Linked DNA regions of Homo sapiens: region 1 is linked to region 2. The links are contacts of gene promoters, found by promoter capture Hi-C in human tissues and cell types (Jung and others, 2019). All regions are on one chromosome and are shown on one strand. Each heading gives the region's core, a stretch centred on a gene start or on the middle of the fragment in contact. The rest is flanking DNA. Distances are from core to core; before and after follow the strand shown.

Region 1 (2,700 bases), core at 88-2,587, 460 kb before region 2:
GCCCTGACTGCAGGCCGGATACTCTGCCAGGGGCTCACATCCATTCACTCATTCATTTTCCTCTTACCCTCTTTAAAATCGTGTGCCTACTACGTGTTAGCACTGTTCTCGACAGATATAGCAGGAAACAAAACAGACAAAATCCTTGCCTTTGGGCCAAGTGCAGTGTTCATGCCTGTAACCCCAGCACTTTGGAAGGCTGAGATGGGAGGATCACCTGAGCCTGGGAGTTCGAGACTGCAAAGAGCTGTGATTGTGCCACTGCACTCCAGCTTGGGTAACGGAGTGGCACCCCGTCCCAAAAAACTAAAAATAAAATAAAATAAAATAAAATAAAATAAAATAAGCCTTGCCTTCATGAAACTTATATGCTAGTAGGAGACAGAATAAATAAGACAAATCAAATATGCAGCATGTTAGACTGTGGGAGGGGCTAAGGGGAGCAATGAGGTAGTGAAGGGAGACAGAAAATGGGAGATGGGGGCAATTTTCTTTCTTTTTTTTTTTTTTTTGAGACATAGTTTCACTCCATTGCCCAGGCTGGAGTGCAATGGTGCAATCTCGGCTCACTGCAACCTCCACCACCCGGGTTTCAAGCTATTTTCCTGCCTCAGCCTCCTTGAGTAGCTGGGATTACAGGTATGCACCACCATGCCCGGCTAATTTTTTTGTATTTTTAGTAGAGATGGGTTTTTGCCATGTTGGTCTGGCTGACCTCAAACTCCTGACCTCAAGTGATCCACCTGCCTCAGCCTCCCAAAGTGCTGGGATTACAGGCATGAGCCACTTCACCCGGCCTGTTTTGTTTTTAAAGAGACAAGGTCTCACTCTGTTGCCCAAGCTGGAGTGCGGCCTTGACCATAGCCCATGCAGCCTCGACCATAGCTCATGCAGCCTTGACCTCCTGGGCTCAAGCGATCCTCTTGCCTCAGCCTCCCAAGTAGCTGGGACTACAGATGTGCACCACCACACCCGGGCTCATATAGCTTCTTAACTGGGTGGGCAGAGGAAGCAGGGGGCAGAGGCCCATCCCCAAGGGAGAAACCATCCATCAGTGCGGGACTGACAGGGACACTCCACCCACTCAGCCCAGTGTGCTTCTGTCCAGGGAGACTCCAACGGCTGCCACAGCTGTGGTTTACTGACTTCAGGTCTGACTGCCCTCTCCAGAGCTGCCCTAGAATCCCTTTGTCTGTGGCTGAAGTGTCCCTCAGAGCTGAGGAACAAGTTTGGAGAGGACCAGGAGGGGCTCTCCCCACCCCCGCCCCTTTCCCACATGAAGAGAAACATTTCAGGGTTGAAAAAATGACTCATTCTCCCCAGAGAGGGCTGGAGCTGAGCTGAGTCAGGCAGAAGGAGCCCGCGGGTCACTTAATCGGCCTCCCTGCTCTGGCAGAGATGGCTCTGGGCCCCAGGAAGCCAGGGACAAATGGAGGCGGAGGTGGCAGAGATAAGCAGCTAGTGGAGTGTGCCAGCCTCTCCTTCCCCAACCGAGTGTGTCACTGGGCGTCACCCAGCACTGCTCAAGTTGAACCTGATGCAGAAGAAAAATTCCTCTGGACTTTCCTGAACGAGCTTTATGGCTGACTCACTGCCACCTGGAGCCTGCAAGAAAAGTCACAAATCACGAAAGAAGGAGAAAAACAGTTCTCGTTAAGCCATGTCTTCAATGGAGGTATCAGAGGTCGCCAGGAGGAAAGCACACATGTTTTGTTGTGGGTTTCCTTCTCTAAAGAAACACGTTACACAATAGAGGGGGGTTGAGACTGGTTGCAAAACTGCAAAATCCAATTTTGTGTACTGGATTCAATTTCTTCATTAGCTGACACTAAACACAGAGACGGGGCCCTTGTGACTAGATGAACCATAAACTGGCTCCAGGACCACCAACCTGGTACCTGATGGCTTGTTTCTGCTCCCCACTCTTTCCCTCCATGCATCTTTCTCTGAGCTTCTGCTCAAGGCAGGTGCCAGGACAAGCCAGCGTCTCGAGCGGTTCCCCTTCAGCGGTGAGAAGTAACGTCACAATTAAGGGGCAAGAGGGGCCAGAGGACAGAACAGTGCCAGTTCCTCATCCAGATTGAAATTTGCTTCCAGCTGCCTGTCCCCACACCAGAAAGGGCACTCCCTGCTCCCCATGCAGGCTTCTCATCCTCTTTTGCTGGCCTCCTCCCTCCTCGCTGTCCCTGGTCTTTTTCAGCCACAAGCAAAACACACTCAGCCTTGAAGTCAGATGCTCTACAGAAGCCTGCAAAAACAGAGTCAGGAGTTGTGTGGCCTTGGCCGAGTCACCTCACCTCACCAAGCCTCAGCCTCCTCACCTATTAAATGGGGACACAATAGGACCCACTTCCTTGGAGCTGACTGAGGTATGAATTGAGTCAATGCATTCATTGCTCAGCACACAGCTTAGCTCAAAGTTAATGCTCAATAAATTGTGGTTCCCACCTCCTGCTCCACGGAGCAGACATGAAACAGGTACGAGAAGCAACGAGAAGGGGCGGCAGCAGAGCATCAACACACAGGGAGTCCTGCCTACTGTCCCGACGCCACCCAGAGGCTCAAGGGGTGCCCCGGCTGCTCTCCGAAGCTGCCGGTGGCACTTTCGCCAGCCACCTTGTTTCCAAACTTGCTGCCAGCTTCCCCTAGCGCAGTGATTTCCACAACGGAGCTCCCGGCTGTGGGAAGGGGGCTTTCTTT
Region 2 (3,046 bases), core at 428-2,927:
CATGGTGGCTCACGCCTGTAATCCCAGAAGAGGTGGGCAGATCGCTTGAGCCCAGAGCTCGAGACCAGCCTGGCCAACATGGCGAAAACCCGTCTCCACTAAAAATACAAAACTGAGTCGGGCGTGGTGGCCCGTGCCTCTAATCCCAGCTACTCCGGAGGCCGAGGTGGGAGGATCGCTTGAGCCTGGGAAACGGAGGTTGCAGTGAGCCGAGCTCGTGACACTGCACTCCAGCCTGTGTGACAGAGTGAGACCCTGTCTCAAAAACCACCAGAACTATTAGTAGTTTACATTATTTGGTTAGTCTGGAAACTAATTACGTTGAGAAACTGACTGAAGCTTGATTATTTCTATTATACACAGACTTCAAACATTCCAGAACTTACTGTTAAAGTCAGATTTACCCTCCTTGTGAGACAGACGCCCAGAGCTTGGACTTATTCGTTTGCTTTATAGAAACTCCCTAACTTATTTCACTTCTCATACTAGACTTTAAGCTCCAAAGCCAGAGACCATGACTTCCATTCCTTCCGGATCCCCCAGCGGAATGTAAAAACTCCAGAAAGCATTTCCTAAATGCCTGCCGAAAGACGGCTACTGAGCATGCCCGGCTTGGCCAAGTCAATTTCAACAACATTCTGAAACAAAAACTATAGTTCCCGCGTTACAAGGTGGAAAAAAGGGAATAAACGGGAGCAAAGCCTAAGGATTCAATCTATATGAGGGGGTTAAGGAAAGGTAAAGTTCAAGGGCGGCGCAGACGTGAAGGACAGCACTATCACAGCTTAAACTTGGTACTCGGTAAACTGGTGTCGAACCAGAACGACCAAAGAAAGGCTTAAAAAAAATACTAGATTAACGAGTGAGGGAAGGCCAACGGGGGTGCAGGGTATCGATGACGTAGGCTGACCACAGTTTTTTCTAAAGCTGCCCTCTACAAAAATAATACTAAGATGATCAGGCCTTCGGTGTCAACACCAACAAGATACACTGTGATGAAGCTCACTTCCAAAAAGTTCCTTTTTACAAACGAAAGAGCCGTGCTGTGGCCAAGATACCCCAACCATCAACGCTTGCTAAGCTCTCAGCTCCTGCCTTCATCTCCACCGCCATCTTCTGGATGGGAACCCAAACCTTCCTAAAGTGCTTTGGCCAGCATCACCTCCGCGCACAGCCCGGGAAGCCTGCGTTTCCCAGGTCGCGCAGACGGCGCAAAGGGGGAAACTCCACCTCGCTCGGCTCCGCGCCTCCCAAATGCACGCAAAGGGCTGCCGTCTTCCTTTCCCCTACCCCGCCCGGGCTTTCCAAGGTCCGGCGCGAGGAGCCCGCGAGGCGCGGTGCGCGGGCCTCACCTGCACACGCCGCGAATGCAGGGCTCCAGCCAGATGCGGTAAGCGGTCTCGATGTGCTCCTGCGACACCTCCTCGGGCCGCACCGTCTCCGCCCAGCGCCAGGCCGCCTTCTCCAGCTGCAGCCGCGGGGCCATGGCCTTGGCCCCAGGAACGCCTCCCGAGCCAGACCGCCGCAGCCGCCGCCGCGGTCTGCACCGCCGCCCCAATGGGCTTCGCCACCTGCCAGCAAGGAGGACCTGGCGCTCCTTCAGGCAGCTGGCCAGTCAATCACCTGTGCGCGCCACTGCCGCCGCGCCCGCCCGCGCCCGACCCGCACGACCGGCCGCAAAGCGCCGCCGTCGACACCCGACACACCCCGCGCCCGCGGACGTTAAAGGTGGACTCCCCGCCGCGCTGAGCGCATGCGCGTTCCCAGCAGCCTCTGCGCCTCCCGCGCCCCTAACCCGACGGGCTGAGGTAGAGGAAGCGTACGTCCGAGGCGGTCTTGCCACGTCCTCACTGGCACTTCTGGAAAAGCAGCGTCTCAGCCCCCGTTCAGGGCGGCGCACTACGTACCACTACTCTAACAAACCAGTGCCTCGAAAGCTATTTCTTGCCTCCGGTACTTCCCTTTTAACCATGAAGTTTTCACGCTAGAGGCTACTCAACGCACACACAGGCCCGCCCAGACTGTGGAGCGGGACCTGTTTAGAGTAGAAACCGAGTCGCCAAAGAAACCAGTGTTGGCTCTTTAGAGGGAGATTTAACTTGAGCCTAGACCGGTTCCGAACCCCTTTCCCGAGCCCTCCTGACGTCATGGGACCTTCCGGCCTTTTCCCGTGCTAGGGTGGGACTACGTGTCCCGGCATGCCCTGCGTCCTGCCACTGACTGTGAGGCATGCTGGGATTTGTAGTCTTCGAGGTGGGAGTGCTCAGTGCGCCGCAGACTGTGCGGGCGGGGGTCCGAGGTGCCAGGGTGGAGTTTCTCTGGTGCGCAAGGTCATGTTTGCTGTTGGCTCCCTTCTCAAGACTGTTACCTCTATGCCAGGATTTTCTAGTTCCTCTCTAGCTCCTGGTTTAAAACATTTCCTTTCTGCGACTCCTGCCCCAGGACATAAAGAGTAGCTTTATGAGAATTGTTTTGCAAACTGTAAAGAACTCTACTAAAGTGAGGATATTTAAGAATTTTGAATTTGAATTAGAGCTCTGCCAGAATCTAAGCGCTAACTTCTGACTCAGCTGCTTGCCTGCTGGAAAACCTTAGGCTGAATTCTTTAGATAAACATTCACTGGGCCGAGCACCGTGGCTCAAGGATCCAATCCCAGCACTTTGGGAGGCCGAGGTGGGCGGATCACCTGAGGTCAGGAGTTCGAGGCCAGCCTGACCAAAATGGAGAAACCCCGTCTCTACTAAAAATACAAAATTAGCAAGGCGCGGTCGCGCATGCCTGTAATCCCAGCTAGTCGGGAGGCAGAGGCAGGAGAATCGCTTGAACCCGGGAGGCGGAGGTTGTGGTTAGCCGAGATAACGCCATTGCACTCCAGCCTGGGCAACAAGAGTAAAACTCCGTCTCAAAAAAAACAAAAAAATTCGCTGAAGGCAGAAGAAAGTAAGATGTGGTCCCTGCCCTTGGAAGTGGGTTAGGGAGTGAGCGGTAGAAATACAAAGATCCCCATCCCAGTCTTGGGAGGCTTCGGGGTACTTGAGAAAAGGC

Evidence for each region. Contacts are between HindIII fragments. The study calls those that stand out against the background at their distance.
Region 1: a fragment that was not itself captured here is called in contact with the fragment with the promoter of USP48 in region 2 in 1 of the 25 tissues and cell types used here (dorsolateral prefrontal cortex).

What each region holds. Positions count from the first base shown.
Region 1 is chr1:21,323,324-21,326,023 of GRCh38, forward strand. It overlaps a transcript of ECE1 not described here. Among named protein-coding and RNA genes, the nearest start is that of ECE1-AS1, 31 kb to the left of the region's middle. RefSeq lists an enhancer at 394-954. The HindIII fragment of the contact is 5,859 bases long and covers 1-2,700 here.
Region 2 is chr1:21,781,472-21,784,517 of GRCh38, forward strand. It overlaps USP48 (ubiquitin specific peptidase 48), which reads right to left and starts at 1,678. Exons shown (of 27, transcript NM_032236.8): 1 at 1,353-1,678. The coding sequence starts at 1,486. RefSeq lists enhancers at 362-411, 724-1,495, 972-1,071, 1,496-2,266, 2,012-2,061 and a silencer at 1,442-1,801. The HindIII fragment of the contact is 7,275 bases long and covers 1-3,046 here.